Regions from separate parts of the Homo sapiens genome. Here region 1 is linked to region 2. The links are contacts of gene promoters, found by promoter capture Hi-C in blood cells and fetal thymus (Javierre and others, 2016). All regions are on one chromosome and are shown on one strand. Each heading gives the region's core, a stretch centred on a gene start or on the middle of the fragment in contact. The rest is flanking DNA. Distances are from core to core; before and after follow the strand shown.

The links. The method cuts DNA at HindIII sites, captures the fragments that hold promoters and counts their contacts. A CHiCAGO score of 5 or more calls a contact.
Region 1: the fragment with the promoter of SEC13 here is called in contact with the fragment with the promoter of IRAK2 in region 2 in 1 of 17 cell types (neutrophils); the score reaches 7.6 in neutrophils.

Annotation. Positions count from the first base shown.
Region 1 is chr3:10,316,280-10,323,156 of GRCh38, reverse strand. SEC13 (SEC13 homolog, nuclear pore and COPII component) reads left to right here and starts at 2,045. Exons shown (of 9, transcript NM_183352.3): 1 at 2,045-2,107; 2 at 5,063-5,107. The coding sequence starts at 2,105. RefSeq lists a silencer at 1,810-1,889 and enhancers at 1,737-2,332, 2,080-2,379. The HindIII fragment of the contact is 12,357 bases long and covers 1-6,877 here.
Region 2 is chr3:10,162,284-10,169,733 of GRCh38, reverse strand. It overlaps IRAK2 (interleukin 1 receptor associated kinase 2), which reads right to left and starts at 4,815. Exons shown (of 13, transcript NM_001570.4): 1 at 4,686-4,815. The coding sequence starts at 4,779. RefSeq lists an enhancer at 237-747 and silencers at 4,501-4,650, 4,851-4,980. The HindIII fragment of the contact is 5,632 bases long and covers 2,626-7,450 here.

The DNA of each region.
Region 1 (6,877 bases), core at 796-3,295, 160 kb before region 2:
AATAAGATACAGTTCTGTTGCTTGTCACAAATCCCCAATCTCTTCAACATCAGTGTCTACACAAGGAAATTCTTTTAATCACAATTATGCCTGATGCATTATATTTACATCTAATATGCCCTTGTCCTCATTTTCCACTCAAAGAAAGTGAGGCTCAGAGAAAAGTGACTTGGCCTTATCACCTAGAAAGTCAGTGGTGCAGCTATAGAGCCAAGGCCAGAGCCTGTTCCTTGAAGAACAGGAGATCTGGCAGGACGCAGCGGCTCACACCTGTAATCCCAGCACTTTGAGAGGCCGAGGAGAGTAGATCACCAGAGGTCAGGAGTTTGAGACCAGCCTGGCCAACATGGTGAAACCCCATCTCTACTAAAACTACAAAAATTAGCCAGGCATGGTGGCACATGCCTGTAATCCCAGCTACTCAGGAGGCTGAGGCAGGAGAATTGCTTGAACCCGGGAGGTAGAGGTTGCAGTGAGCCAAGATCATACCACTGGACTCCAGCCTGGGCAACAGAGCTAGAGTCCATCTCCAAAAAAAAAAAAACAAAAAAAACAACAGGAGATCCAAGAGATCCCCTGAAACCTGCCTTTGTTCCCTGCTCTAACCTAACCACCACCCCCTCACACCCCTGCAACAATTTCTCCACTAGAGGGCAATAAAAAATCTTGAAAGCTGCAGTGGGGTAGAAGAGTTGCCCAGAGGCCTGGCCCTTAATTCTAACACCCTACTCCCCTGGCCTCCCCTCCAAAGCTCCTTGACAGTTTGGGTCTATCACATTCTCTGAGCCTTAACATCTTCCTTCAAGCAGTGACCATCTCCAGCTAGGGTCCTTACTCCCAGTTTCAGCAGAGGAAACTGAAGGACTGTGACTTGCCCAAGGGGAGCCAAGGCCTCCCCCAGCTCATCTGCCTCCTTAATGTCACAAGGGGCCCAGGGCTAGACCATATGTGGCTGAGGCGGGGAGCCCAGGCTCTGTCCTCCAGTGTGGCATTCTCACTGCGCTTGTGGGGAGCCTTCAGCTGCCCTACCTTGTGAAGCCAGAGACCTGGGGTTGGGGACCCTGAGGATTAGGTCTGGGGCTCTAGCTGCAGGAGCCTGGCTGAGATCCTTCATTGCCTAGGGGGGTCTCCTTGATGGGACTTACTCAGGACCCCAGGGGATCGGTTTGGAAGGGGCAGTCCTATATAGGGGTTAGGGATGGCAGGGCCAGAGGTCCCAGCCTCTGGCGAGGGGCATTCCCTGGCCTCCTCTGCCCTGGTCCCAGTCCTTGGGTACTGAGAGGGAGACTACAACAAGGAAGCACTAGGACAGTCTACTTACTCCTAAGATGTCACTCATCCTACAACATTCATCATAAGACCAGTCGCACCCAGAGCCGTAGTGAGGCGGGTGAAGCTGCAGATAGATAGATGATAGATAGATAGATAGATAGATAGATAGATAGATAGATAGATAGATAGATTTTTTTCTTTTTTACAAGAGTGTCTCTCTGTTGCCCAGGCTGGAGTGCAATGGTGCAGTCACGGCTCACTGTAACCTCCACCTCCCGGGTTCCAGCGATTCTCCTGCCTCAGCCTGTAGCTGGGACTACAGGCGCGCGCCACTATGCCCGGCTAATTTTTGTATTTTTGGTAGAGACGGGGTTTCACCATGTTGGCCAGGCTGGTCTCGAACTCCTGACCTCAGGTGATCCACCCCCCAGCTCAGCCTCCCAAAGTTCTGGGATTACAGGCATGAGCCACCGCGCCCGGCCGATAGTTATATTAATCCTTTCTTTCATTTATGGATCTCAGGAAAAGGGCAGACTTGGTCGGGAGAGTAGACCCACCAGAGCTTCAGATTCCAAAGCCCTCCGGGTCAGGGTAACTGCGGCAACCAGAGCCCCAGCCCTCTGGTCTCGCACGTCACTGGAGGATAGGGGCTGGGCCACGGGAGGGCGGGGCGCGCCCTCTGGAAGGCGCGGAACTGCTGTGCGAGCCGAGCGCGTTGCTGCCCGGAGGCTCCTACGCCACGGCCCGTCGGGCCCGGCGCCGGAAGTGAGCTGTTCCGAGGCGCCGCCGGGAGCTGCCACGTCCGAGACCTGGAGCAGCCACCGCCGCAATCATGGTGAGTGTTGGTACTGAGGAGGCCTAGCAGGGTGAAGGCCACGGTCGCGGCCTTCACGGGTTCCTCGGCCGTCCTGAGTCCCAAATCCCAAGCTGGAGCCGTTCAGCTCCCCTCCACCGCTTAGAGATTTGGGGGGCTCTGGCCCCGTCCTTGCGGACCATTCCGAGGGGAGTCCAGAGGTGAGGCCGAGGAACCTCCCTGACTTTGCGGGGCGCGCCGCTCCTGCGTCTCCTGCCAGTCTCCCTTCCTTCTTTTCGGTCAACAATTGAAAACAAAACGAGGAACAGCAGAGGAGCTACTGTATACCGAGCCCTCAGCATTGTTCGTAATCTCCGCCTGCTAACAGCCTTGTGAAGAAGGTGCTATTCTTCTCAACACTTTACAGATGAGGACACTTGAGGTTCGGAGACGTGGAGCCTCTTGCACAGCTGCTTAAGTGGTAGTAGAGCCGAGATTTGAACCCTCCTAACCATTCCTTTCTGCCGCCTACTGCAGCTCCCAGCAGAGATGATTGAACTGTTGCTCGGGGTAGGGCCCCCAGGTAGGATGGGCACCTCGGGAAACGTAAAGATGGCCTGAACGACCCTCCGAAGGCAGGGGCTCAGGGTTTTTTAAGTCTCTGTGGCATCTGCAGTGTACATTCACTCCACACTTACTCCTTGAGTGAATGAATGACTGAAGGAGAACTAAAGAATGGAAGTATCTGGGCTGAGCCTGGAATATCTAGTACATGCATTCTTTTAGAAACATGGGTGTGTCTCAGCAGCAGGTTTGAGGGAACCTGCAGGAACCTAGAAATCAGAACACTGTGTTCTTGTTCTGCAGAGGGTTAGGTGTAAATCACTCACCTCTGGCTCTTCCACTGCAGGTTAGAGTTGAGGCTTTTATGCTCTGACATTCAGCTCATCCTAAATGAATTTTTAACTCATTATCTGATCTCAAAGAGGTGAATTATTTTGAGTGCAGGTGTTAACAGGGACCAGATAATACCAGGTCCCTGGGAAGAAGTACTCTAAGAAGTTCTCTCTCTCTCTCTCTCTCTCCCCACCCTCCCTCTCTCCCCACTCCCTCTCCCTCCCCCCTTCCTCTCCCTCTCCCTTTCTCTCTCTCCCCCTCCCTCTCTTCTCTCTCTCTCTCCCCGCTCCCTCTTCCTCCCCCCTTCCTCTCCCTCTCCCTTTCTCTCCCGCCCTTCCTCCTTCCTTCCGTCCTTTTCTCTCCCCCTCCCTCTTTCCTCCCCCCCCCCCCCCCCCGCCTTCTCTCTCTCTCTCTCTCTCTCTCTCTCTCTCTCATTCAGAAGTGTGGTTCATCAACCCTGACTGGTGGGTGAGAGTGGTTAGAATTAAATGCTGATTATTTCTAAGGTCCTTTGGTAACCTGGTTGAAACTACCTCTCAGTAAACTTTCTTCGTGAACCTACTTAACCGCAGCTTTACAGAACTCAGTGTAACAACTGCTTTACATTCTAGACAGGCAGCCTGGTGGAGTGAAGTTTTGTGGACTCAGCATTAGAAGGTTAGGGGATGGGGCTCTTTTCCCAGGTCTGCCTTGAACTAGCTCTGTGACTTTGGCAAGTGCTTTCTCTTCTCTGGGCTTCTTCATTTCCTTAGTCTGTCGCAGGTCTCTGATTGACTGTGCCCTTGGTACCCTGCCCTCCCCGCCTTCCTGTGCACTTTGTAACCTATACAGCTCGGCACATGGAGGAAACTCCTTATTGTCCTTACTTGCCTTTGCAGACTTCGGGGACCTGGTTTTTAGAGAGTCTAGAATCTGATGAGAGAACCTGTGCTTACTTGGTGTGTACCTCTTGAACTGCTTTGCAGCCATCCTCTTCCACTGTCTGCCTTTCTGAAATCACAAGTCAAACTTTATACCTACAGGGCTTGTGCTGGAAAAGATGAAATGGGGAAAATGGTAAGAAATGTCTGTTCCACACTGAAACTTCTTTTAAGTCCTCTTTTCTATCCCAAGAATTTAAGAGAAGAGTGGTTGAGCAAAGAAAAAAAATAACAGCTTTTGTTCATTTACTTATTCATTCAGCAAATAGTCGCTGAGTTCCTTCTATTTGCAAAGCACTGTGCTGGATGATTTGAGGGGATTTGAAACTGCAGATGGCTCAGACCATGGCTCCAAGGAGCTCACCTTCTAGTGGGGAGAAGAAACAGCATAAAGTGTTGTATGTGTTCCTTGCTGAAGATATGCAAGAGAGTCCAGCCATTTGAGGGTCTGAGAATCTTCAAGAAAGGTGATGGATGGCCCTTTTTGAGCTGGACCTCAAAGAATAGATAGGAGGGAGATGACCATGACACCATGTTCCAGCCCTACAAACTGTTCAACTCTGGATCCCACTACGTGACGGACCAGGGAGCAGCCTCAGGAAACACTCGAATCAAGTCTCCCAGTCTGAAGTAATAACCCCGTTATGCATAAACTGCCTGGAACATCAGAGGCTCTGTCATCCAGGAAAGGAACACCAGCTGTAGCTCCCTTGGGGTCTCTCCTCAACCTTAAGGGTAGCCAGGACTGCTTGCCGTTTCCCCACACACATCAGGCTCTCTCAGACCTCTTTGTCTCTACTCGTGTATTCCCTCTGCTTGGCTGCTTGGACTGGTATTTTCCCCTGTGCCACCTGCAAATTCCTACCCATCATCTAGGGCTCAATTCGTGTCTACCACCCCAGCCCCTCAGGCTCCTACAGGACACACAAACCACCATTAAATAATTTATCTTGCGACACTAGCATTATTCGCGAGCTTCTCAAGGGCAAAAAGTTCCTCTTATTTGTGTCTGTATATCCAGTTCCTAGCACAGTGCTTGGCAGAAAGAAGGTACTTAGAATGAATGCTTACTGAATGAATGAATGAATGAGTGAGTGAACAAACAAATGCAGTCAAGAACTTGAGATGGTTGTATTCTAACTGCCATGAGTTAATTTACCAGTGATATCTTTGGTTCTAGGTGTCAGTAATTAACACTGTGGATACCTCCCATGAGGACATGATTGTAAGTATTAATATCACCCTCCCTGGAGGGGTGTGGACATGGGCATTTTTGTGGGAGGGAAGCAATTTGGGGTTTTCATTACCCCTTTCTGTTGATCATTCATGGATCCAGGGTGGCTTTGCAGTGGTTGCCTATCAGCCTGTAATCTCGGGGTATGGCAGGCTCCCTAGCAGTGCCCTCTGAGTTGTCAGGACTGTGGCAGTCTAATCACTCTCTGCTGGGAGGAACCTGGGAATAATTTGTAGTTCTAGGCTGTCAGTCTTCCAGCCAATACAATAACCTGCTCTCGGATGAAGGCTGAGTGGGTACGGAGGCTTGACAATAGTCTTCCCACCTGTCTTCCTCCTGCTGTCACTTCTTAGCCCCACTGGAAAGGGGGGTGAAAAGAAGAGAGTGTAGAAAGATGACTCAATACAAAGGCAGAGGGCAGCCACAGTGAAAGCCCCAGGCAGAGCCCAGTCAAACCACCAAGACAATAGGCCAGACAAGGCCCTTTGAACCAGAAGTCCACACTCAGGGCATTTCCTGAGAGGTAAACACAAGGCTCAGTATAAGAGGACAGGGCTGCAGGAGAAGGTCCAGAGGTTAAAGTCTACCGCAGGAAAAACACAGACTCTGCTTCATTCAGGGCCAAGCAGCCTTTGAGCAAGACCCAGGACAGCTGGCTGACAGTGTTTCATGTCAGGGTTCTTGCCCTCACAACCTGTCCACCAACAGTTGCTTTTGGGTTTCTGAGAGGTTGTCTGGTCCCAGAGTTGTATATGTTCTCTGGATTCAGTCATGAGTGGTCTAGCTGTAAGACCACACCTCCTTGGAGATAGCATGGAATCATGGGCAGGAAGACCCAGTCTGAGACTCCCTAGCCAATATCTTAACTTTTCTGAGCCAGCCTCAATTTACTTACGGGAAAAATAATGGATATGCTACCTACTCGTATGAGTTTGGTTTGAGAACTAGATGAGGCCAAGTAGTAATGACAAACATTTGCATGCTCACTGAGTGTCAGGCCCCATGCTAAGTACTTTTCTTTTTTTTTTTTTTTTTTTTTGAGATGGAGTTTCGCTCTTGTAGCCCAGGCTGGCATGCAGTGGCGTGATCTCAGCTCACCGCAACCTACGCCTCCCGGGTTCAAGTAATTCTCCTGCCCCAGACTCCCGAGTAGCTGGGATTACAGGCGTGCGCCACCACTCCCAGCTAATTTTGTATTTTTAGTAGAGGCAAGTTTTCTCCATGTTGGTCAGGCTAGTCTCGAACTCCCGACCTCAGGTGATCCGCCCGCCTCAGCTTCCCAAAGTGCTGGGATTACAGGCGTGAGTTTTCATTCAATATCTTGTTTAACCTTCATAACAACTGTTGAGACAGATGCTATCTTTAGCCTTATTTAAAGATAAGGGAACTAAGGCCCATAGGATGTTGGTAAATAATAAAGATAAGGAAACTGAAGCTCAAGGAGATGAAGTGTTTTCAAAGTTTGCACAGCAGGTAAACTAAGGAGATAGGATTTAGATCTGAAAGGTACTATGTCCTGCCTCCTTCCACTGAGAAGCATGAGAAGTGCTTCAGAAACACTCCTCTACTGCCTGCCCTCCAAGAAACCAAGGCCTGATACAGTGGAGGGAGTTCCCAAAGAAAAATCAGGATGTGTTCCTTGCGTAGGGAGGTGAGAATTCCCATCTGAGCCAGACAGAATGAGTGCCTTTGAATGGGCATAATTGCCCCTGGTGGCCATGGGAGTGCAGCTGATAGTCCTGAAACTCCCAGGGTGGGACA
Region 2 (7,450 bases), core at 3,566-6,065:
ATTGTTTGTAAAACGTGTGTTTGAAAAATATGAAATCTGATTGTAAAACGTGGGTGTTTAAACAATATGAAATCAGGGCACCCTGAAAAAGAACAGAATAACAGTGATGTTCAGGGAACAAGGGAAGATAACCATAAGGTCTGACTGCCTGTGGGGTCGGGCAGAATAGAGCCATATTTTTCTTCTCACAGAGAGCCTATAGATGGACGTGTGAGTAGGAGAAATATCGCTGAATTCTTTTCCCAGCAAGGAATATTAATAATTGATAACCCTGGGGAAGGAACGCATTCCCGGGGTAGGTCTATAAATGGCCACTCTGGGGGTGTCTGTCTGATGCAGTTGAGATAAGGGATGAAATATGCCCTGGTCTCCTGCAGTGCCCTCAGGCTTACTAGGATTGGGAAATTCCAGCCTGGTGAATTCTAGTCAGACGGGTTGTCTGCTCTCCAACCCTGTTTCCTGTTAAGATGTTTATCAAGACAATGCGTGCCCAGTGGGACATGGACCTTCACCAGTAATTCTAATTTCACCTTTGCCTTGTGATCTTTTATTGCCCTTTGAAGAATGTGATCTCTGGGACCTACTCCCTATTCGTACACCCCTCCCCTTTTGAAATCCCTAATAAAAACTCGCTGGTTTTGTGGCTCGGGGTCACCATCACGGTCCTACCAATGTGTAACAGCACCCCCAGAGGCCTAGATGTAAAATTTCTCTCTTTGTACTCTTTATTTCTCAGACCGGCCGACACTTAGGGAAAATAGAAAAGAACCTACATTGAAATACTGCGGGCTGGTTCCCCTGATATTGTAGTAATCTATAACTGCAACAGGAGGAAACTAATAGACTAGAAAGCTAGCCCCAGGTAACACAGGGGGAAGAACGTCCCAGGCAGAGGGAACAGCACCTGCAAAGACCCTGTGTCTGGCCCAGGGAGGTCAGTGTGGCTGGAGCAGGGGAGTGACAGTGGGTGTGGAAGAAGAGGAGGTCAGAGAGGCCAGCACTGGGCAGATGTGTCAGAGTCAACATGCCTGGCAAGGTGTTCAGATCATATCCATCCCAGTGGGGAGCCTCGCAGAGGTATTCTCCAAAGAAGATGTGCAAATGGCCAACAAGCACAGGAAAAGATGCTCCACAGCATTAGTCATTAGGGAAATGCAAATCAAACCACAGTAAGATGCCACTTCACACTGGCTCAGGTGGCTACCATCAAAAAAGCAACAATAAGGCCGGACATGGTGCTCACACCTGTAATCCCAGCACTTTGGGAGGCCGAGGCGGGCAGATCACCTGAGGTTAGGAGTTTGAGACCAGCCTGGCCAACACGGTGAAACCCTGTCTCTACTGAAGATACAAAAATTAGTCAGGCACGGTGGTGCATGCCTGTAATCCCAGCTACTTGGGAGGCTGAGGCACAAGAATCGCTTGAACCCAGGAGGCTAAGGTTGCAGCGAGCCGAGATCATGCCACTGCACTCCAGCCTCAGCGACAGAGCGAGACTCTGTCTCAAAAAAAAAAAAATTAAAAAAAGAAAAAAATAACACATGTTGACAAGGATGTGGAGAAATGGTCATCCTCATACACTGGTGGTTCAGCCACTTTAGAAAACATCTGGTAGCTCCTCAAATAGTTAAACATAAAGCCAGATGCAGTGGCTCACACCTGTAATCCCAGCAATTTGGGAAGGTGAGATGGGCAGATCGCTTGAGCTCCAGAGTTCAAGATCAGCCTGAGTAACATGGTGAAACCTGTCTCTACAAAAAATACAAAAGTTAGCTGGGTGCAGCAGTGCACACCTGTAGTCCAGCTACTCAGGAGACAGGAAGATCGCTTGAGCCCAGGAAGTTGGGGCTGCGGTGAGCTACATTTGCACCACTGCACAAAATCTTGTATGTGAGTGTTCACAGCAGCACTATTCACAATGGCCCAAAAGTGAAAAGAACCCAATGCCCAACAACTGATAAATGAATGAAATGTAGTATATCCATACCATGGAACATTATCCTACAATAAAAAGAAACTGGCTGGGCGCGGTGGCTCACGCCTGTAATCCCAGCACTTTGGGAAGCCGAGGTAGGTGGATTACACGGTCAGGAGATCAAGACCATCCTGGCTAACACAGTGAAACCCCATCTCTACTAAAAATACAAAAAAATTAGCCGGGCATGGTGGCAGGCACCTGTAGTCCAAGCTGCTAGGGAGGCTGAAGCAGGAGAATGGCATGAACCCAGGAGGTGGAGCTTGCAGTGAGCCGAGATTGCGCCACTGCACTCCAGCCTGGGTGACAAAGCGAGACTCCGTCTCAAAAAAAAAAAAAAGAAACTAAGTATTGACGCATGCTACAACATGGATGAACCTCATGTTAGTTGAAACAAGTCAGTCACAGAGCACTATATATTATATGATTCCATTTATATGAAATGTCCAAAATAGGCAATGTCTAAAACTCAGGAAAATGGAAGGAGGGGATTGGAAGTTAACGGGTACAGAGTTTCTTCTTCGGGTGATTAAAATGTTCTAAGATTGATTGTGAAGATGGATACACAGCCCTGTGAATATACTAAATACCACTAAATTGTACTCCTGAAACAGGTGGATTGTATGGTATGTGAATATCTCAGTAAAGCTTTATTTTTTTTTTAAGTCATAGGTATGCCTTCTAATTGAATTTCCTAGAAACAGAAGTTGTTCTGGCATTTGTAACTGAGGGCTGGGCCAATGTGGAAAAAATGAGAGGGAGTCTCACACAAAGTTTGTTCACTGCCCAGGAAACATTCAAAGTAGTGAAGCCAGGTCCAGGAGCAGTGGCTCACGCCTGTAATCCCAGCACTTTGGGAGGCCAAAGCGGCCAAATCACATGAGGTCAGGAGTTCGAGACCAGCCTGGCCAACATGGCGAAACCCCATCTCTACTAAAAACATAAAAATTAGTGGGCGTGGTGGCACATGCCTGTAATCCCAGCTACTCGGGAGGCTGAGGCAAGAGAATCACTTGAATCCAAGAGGCGGAAGCTGCAGTGAGCCGAGATCTCGCCACTGCATTCCAGCCTGGGCCACAGAATGAGACTGTCTCAAAAAAATAAAAATGAAAAGAGAATATTACAACTTATGACTTATAAGAATATTTAACACTTAGGTGTCAGTGCTTTTATACAGTATTTTCATTCCTCACAACTTTATGAAGAAGCTATAATTATCATCTCCAGTTTACATACAGATTCAGAAGCTGAGGCTCAGAGAGGTTAACAAACTGGCCCAAAGTCATACAGCAAGAGCCTGGAATGCAGATCTCCACCTGGAAAGCAGAGACAACAGGCAAGCGGCCTCCCCGCAGAGTCCATGGCCCTCTCCGCCAGTCATCCGTCAGGCACCAACAAACAAAACATATGGAGGCTGTCTGAGTGCCTTCCCACGGAATTATCTAGAACTGTGCACCTTGCAATAGAGTGAAAGTAAGTGCTTGTGCTTAGGCCCCATTATACACACTGAATCTATTAGGACACATCTGATCTCAAAACAGGTTGATAGTCATAAATACTGTGATCAAAACAATGTACACTAAAAGTAAATATCTGATTTTAAAACTATAATGGTAAAGTACATTTAATCACAAATATGATAAATAGGCTGGGCACAGTGGCTCACGCCTGTAATCCCAGCACTTTGGGAGGCCGAAGCAGGTGGATCGCCTGAGATCAAGAGTTCCGGAGGCCGGGCGCGGTGGCTCATGCCTGTAATCCCAGCACTTTGGGAGGCCCAGGGTGGGCGGATCACAAGGTCAGGAGATCCAGACCATCCTGGCTAACACGGTGAAACCCCGTCTCTACTAAGAATACAAAGTTAGCCGGGCGTGGTGGCGGGCGCCTGTAGTCCCAGCTACTCAGAAGGCTGAGGCAGGAGAATGGCGTGAACCCGGGAGGCGGAGCTTGCAACGAGCCTAGATCGCGCCACTGCACTCCAGCCTGGGCGACAGAGTGAGACTCCGTCTTAAAAAAAAAAAAAAAAAAAAAAAAAAATAGTTCAAGACCAGTCTGGCCAACATGGTGAAACCCGGTCTCTACTGAAAATACAAAAAATTAGCCAGGGTGGTAGCGGGCGCCTGTAATCCCAGCTACTCGGGAGGCCGAGGCAGGAAAATCGCTTGAATCCCAGAGGTGGAGGTTGCAGTGAGCCGAGACCGTGCCATTGCACTCCAGCCTGGGCAACAACAGCGAAACTCCGTTTCAATATATATATATATGTTAAATCATAGATCCTTCTAATATACACTAAAACTAAACACACCACACACACACACACACACACCCCCCCAAGAAGTGACAGCACCGTGGGTCCCTACAGGGTCGAGGCTCGCACTTTGCAGGCTGTTGTGGGCTGGATGAGAGGCCACCTGGGGACGTCACCGAGCCAGCAGCGCTGACAGGAGGGCCCCCGTACCCACCGTTCTCTGGACTCAGAGCGCAGTGGCGGCGGCCCCTGCTCGTCGACAGACGTCCTCAGAGACCACGCGGCACCTTCAGGTGACAGGCCGAGGTCCGCGGCGGACCCGGTCCAGGAGGCTCAGCTCGCACGCCCTCGGATCGGGACCCGCTGAACCCGGGTGCCCGAGGGAGCTTGGCGGCCGCTCCAGGCGGGATCGCTGGGGGCTCCGGTCGCCCTGGTCCCCTCCCCTCCCCGGGCCGCACTCACCGAACTCCATCCAGTCCCACTCGCTGAGCGCGTCCATGTTGCGGCACAGGTCGTCCAGCACCCAGGAGGGCAGCTGGTAGATGTAGCAGGCCATGGCACGCTACGGGGCCGGCTCCGGCGCGGGACGACTGGGTCGGACACTGCGGGCTGCGGCTTCTCTAGCCAGGGGCGGACCGGCGGGGAAGTGGGCGGGGCGGGAGGGCACCAGCGTCCCCAGCGGCCACGGGCGGCACGACGGCCCCGCCGGCTCCACCCCAGCGCCGGCCAGAGAATCGGAACTGCGAGGGGAAACTGAGGCCCTGGTGGGAGAAGGCCACACGGGAATTCTGCCGCAGCGGCAGGAGGCCTTCTGACCCCACTTCCATCGGCACTACACCATGCATCATGCGCTCATCAAATACTCCATTAATTACCTACTGTATGCCAGGCAACTCCCTAGGTGTTGGTAATACCTGAATAAGAAACCCTACAGCCGGGCGCGGTGGATCACTCCTGTAATCCCAGTACTTTGGGAGGCCGAGGCGGACGGATCACGAGGTCAGGAGTTCGAGACTAGCCTGGCCAATATGGTGAAACCCCGTCACTACTAAAAATACAAAAATTAGCCGGGCACGGTGGCGCACGCCTGTAGTCCCAGCTACCTGGGAGGCTGAGGCAGAAGAATCGCTTGAACCCTGGAGGCGGAGGTTGCAGTAAGCCCAGATTGTGCCCTTGTACTCCAGCCTGGGTGAAGAGTGAGGCTCTGTCTCAAAAAAAAAAAAAAAAAAAAAAAAAAGCCTACAAAAGCCCTTGCTTTCATAAGACTTACAATCTAGGTGTGGAGAGAAAGACTAACAATAAATAATAAATATAGTATGTTACAGAGTGTCTTAAAGGTAATAAGCACTATTGCAAAAAAAAAAAAAAAGGAAAAAAAGTTGGTTAAAGGGAATCAGGAATTCAGATTGAGCATGGGGAATATTCTATTAAATAGGGTAGTCAGGTAGACTTTACTATAGTAGCTAATATGTATCGTGCAGCTACTATGTGCCAGGCACTGTTGTAGGTGCTGGGAATACCTCTGAAGAGAAGGACAAAATCCTTGTCCTGGAGGGAGACAGACAACAAGCAATAAAAATAGGCAGATAAGCTATGTTGGAGAATGAAAGTAGAAGCCTGGGCAACATAGGAAGATCTTATCTCTACAAAAAACTTTTTTTTTTTGAGACGGAGTCTTGCTCTGTAGCCCAGGCTGGAGTGCAGTGGCGCAATCTTGGCTCACTGCAGCCTCTGCCTCCCAGGTCCCGGTTCAAGCAATTCTCCTGCCTCAGTCTCCCGAGTAGCTGGGATTACAGGCACGCGCCACCACGCCCAGCTAATTTTTGTATTTTTAGTAGAGACAGGGTTTCACTGTGTTGGCCAGGATGGTCTTGAACTCCTGACCTCGTGATCCGCCTGCCTCGGCCTCCCAAAGTGCTAGGATTACAGGCATGAGCCACCACGCCTGGCCTCTACAAAAAATTTTAAAATGAGCCAAGCATGGTAGTGTACACCTATAGTCCCAGCTACTCAGGAGGCTAAGGTGGTAGGATCTCTTGAACCCAGGAGTTTGAGGCTGCAGTGAGCTATGACTGCACTGCAGCCTGAGTGACAGAATGAGACCCTGTCTCTGAAAAAAAAAAAAAAAAAAAGAAAGAAAAGAAAGAATAAAAGTAGAGGGTGGTAAAAGGGAGTGCAAGTGGCCAATTGCATTATCTTAGATGATACTATTACTGGGAAAAAAGCAGAGTATGGTGCAGGGGACTGCAGGACAAACTGGATTATTAAATAGGGTATAAGGGGCTGGGTGCGGCGGCTCCCACCTATAACCCCAGCACTTTGGGAGGCAGAGGCAGGCAGATCGCTTGAGCCCAGGAATTCGAGACCAGCCTGGGAAACAGAGCAAGACCCTGTCTCTACAAAAATTAGCCAGGCATGGTGGCATGTGCCTGTAGTCCCAGGTACTTGGGAGGCTAAGGTAGGGGGATCACTTGAGCCCAGGAGGTGGAGATTGCAGTGAGCCAAGATTGCACCACTGCACTCCAGCCTGGGTGAGAGTGAGACCCTGTCTCTAAATAAACAAAGAGGGTACAAGGAACAGAATTTATAGTGTGTGTATACATATATATATATATATATATATATATATATATATATAAAATACACACACACATATATAAAATAGCTAGTATTTATTGAGCACTTACTATGTGTAGCCTTCACCTGGGTTACTTTACTTACTCCTTACAATGACCCTCTGAGGTAGGTATGGTTATAGCCCCATTCTACAAATAAGGAAACTAAGGCACAGAGAGGTTAAATAATATGGCTAAAATCATTTGAACCTAAGTATTCTGACCCCAGGCTCTCCATCACCACTGGCTAAAGTATATTGTAGATACAGATACATTTATCTGTATCTACAATGTACTTTGCAAAAATGATCTTATGTCATTCTTACAAGCCTATACTATAGATATTATTATCCCCATTTTACACAGAAGTAAATAGATTCCAAGAGGTTAGGCGAGGTCACGAAGGGCAGATAAGTAACTAGAGTAGGTACCACTGTATAGCTGTGGCCGTCAGCTATGGAGTAGCGCTGCAAAAGGAGGAAGCTGAAATCAAAGTGAGAAGTCCTAGGGCCAAGTTGCAGTTCTGCCACCAACAGGCTTTGTGACTCTGGACAACTCATTTCATTCGTCAAGCCTTGTTTCCAGCATCTGTAAAGTGGGCCTGCTCCTTCC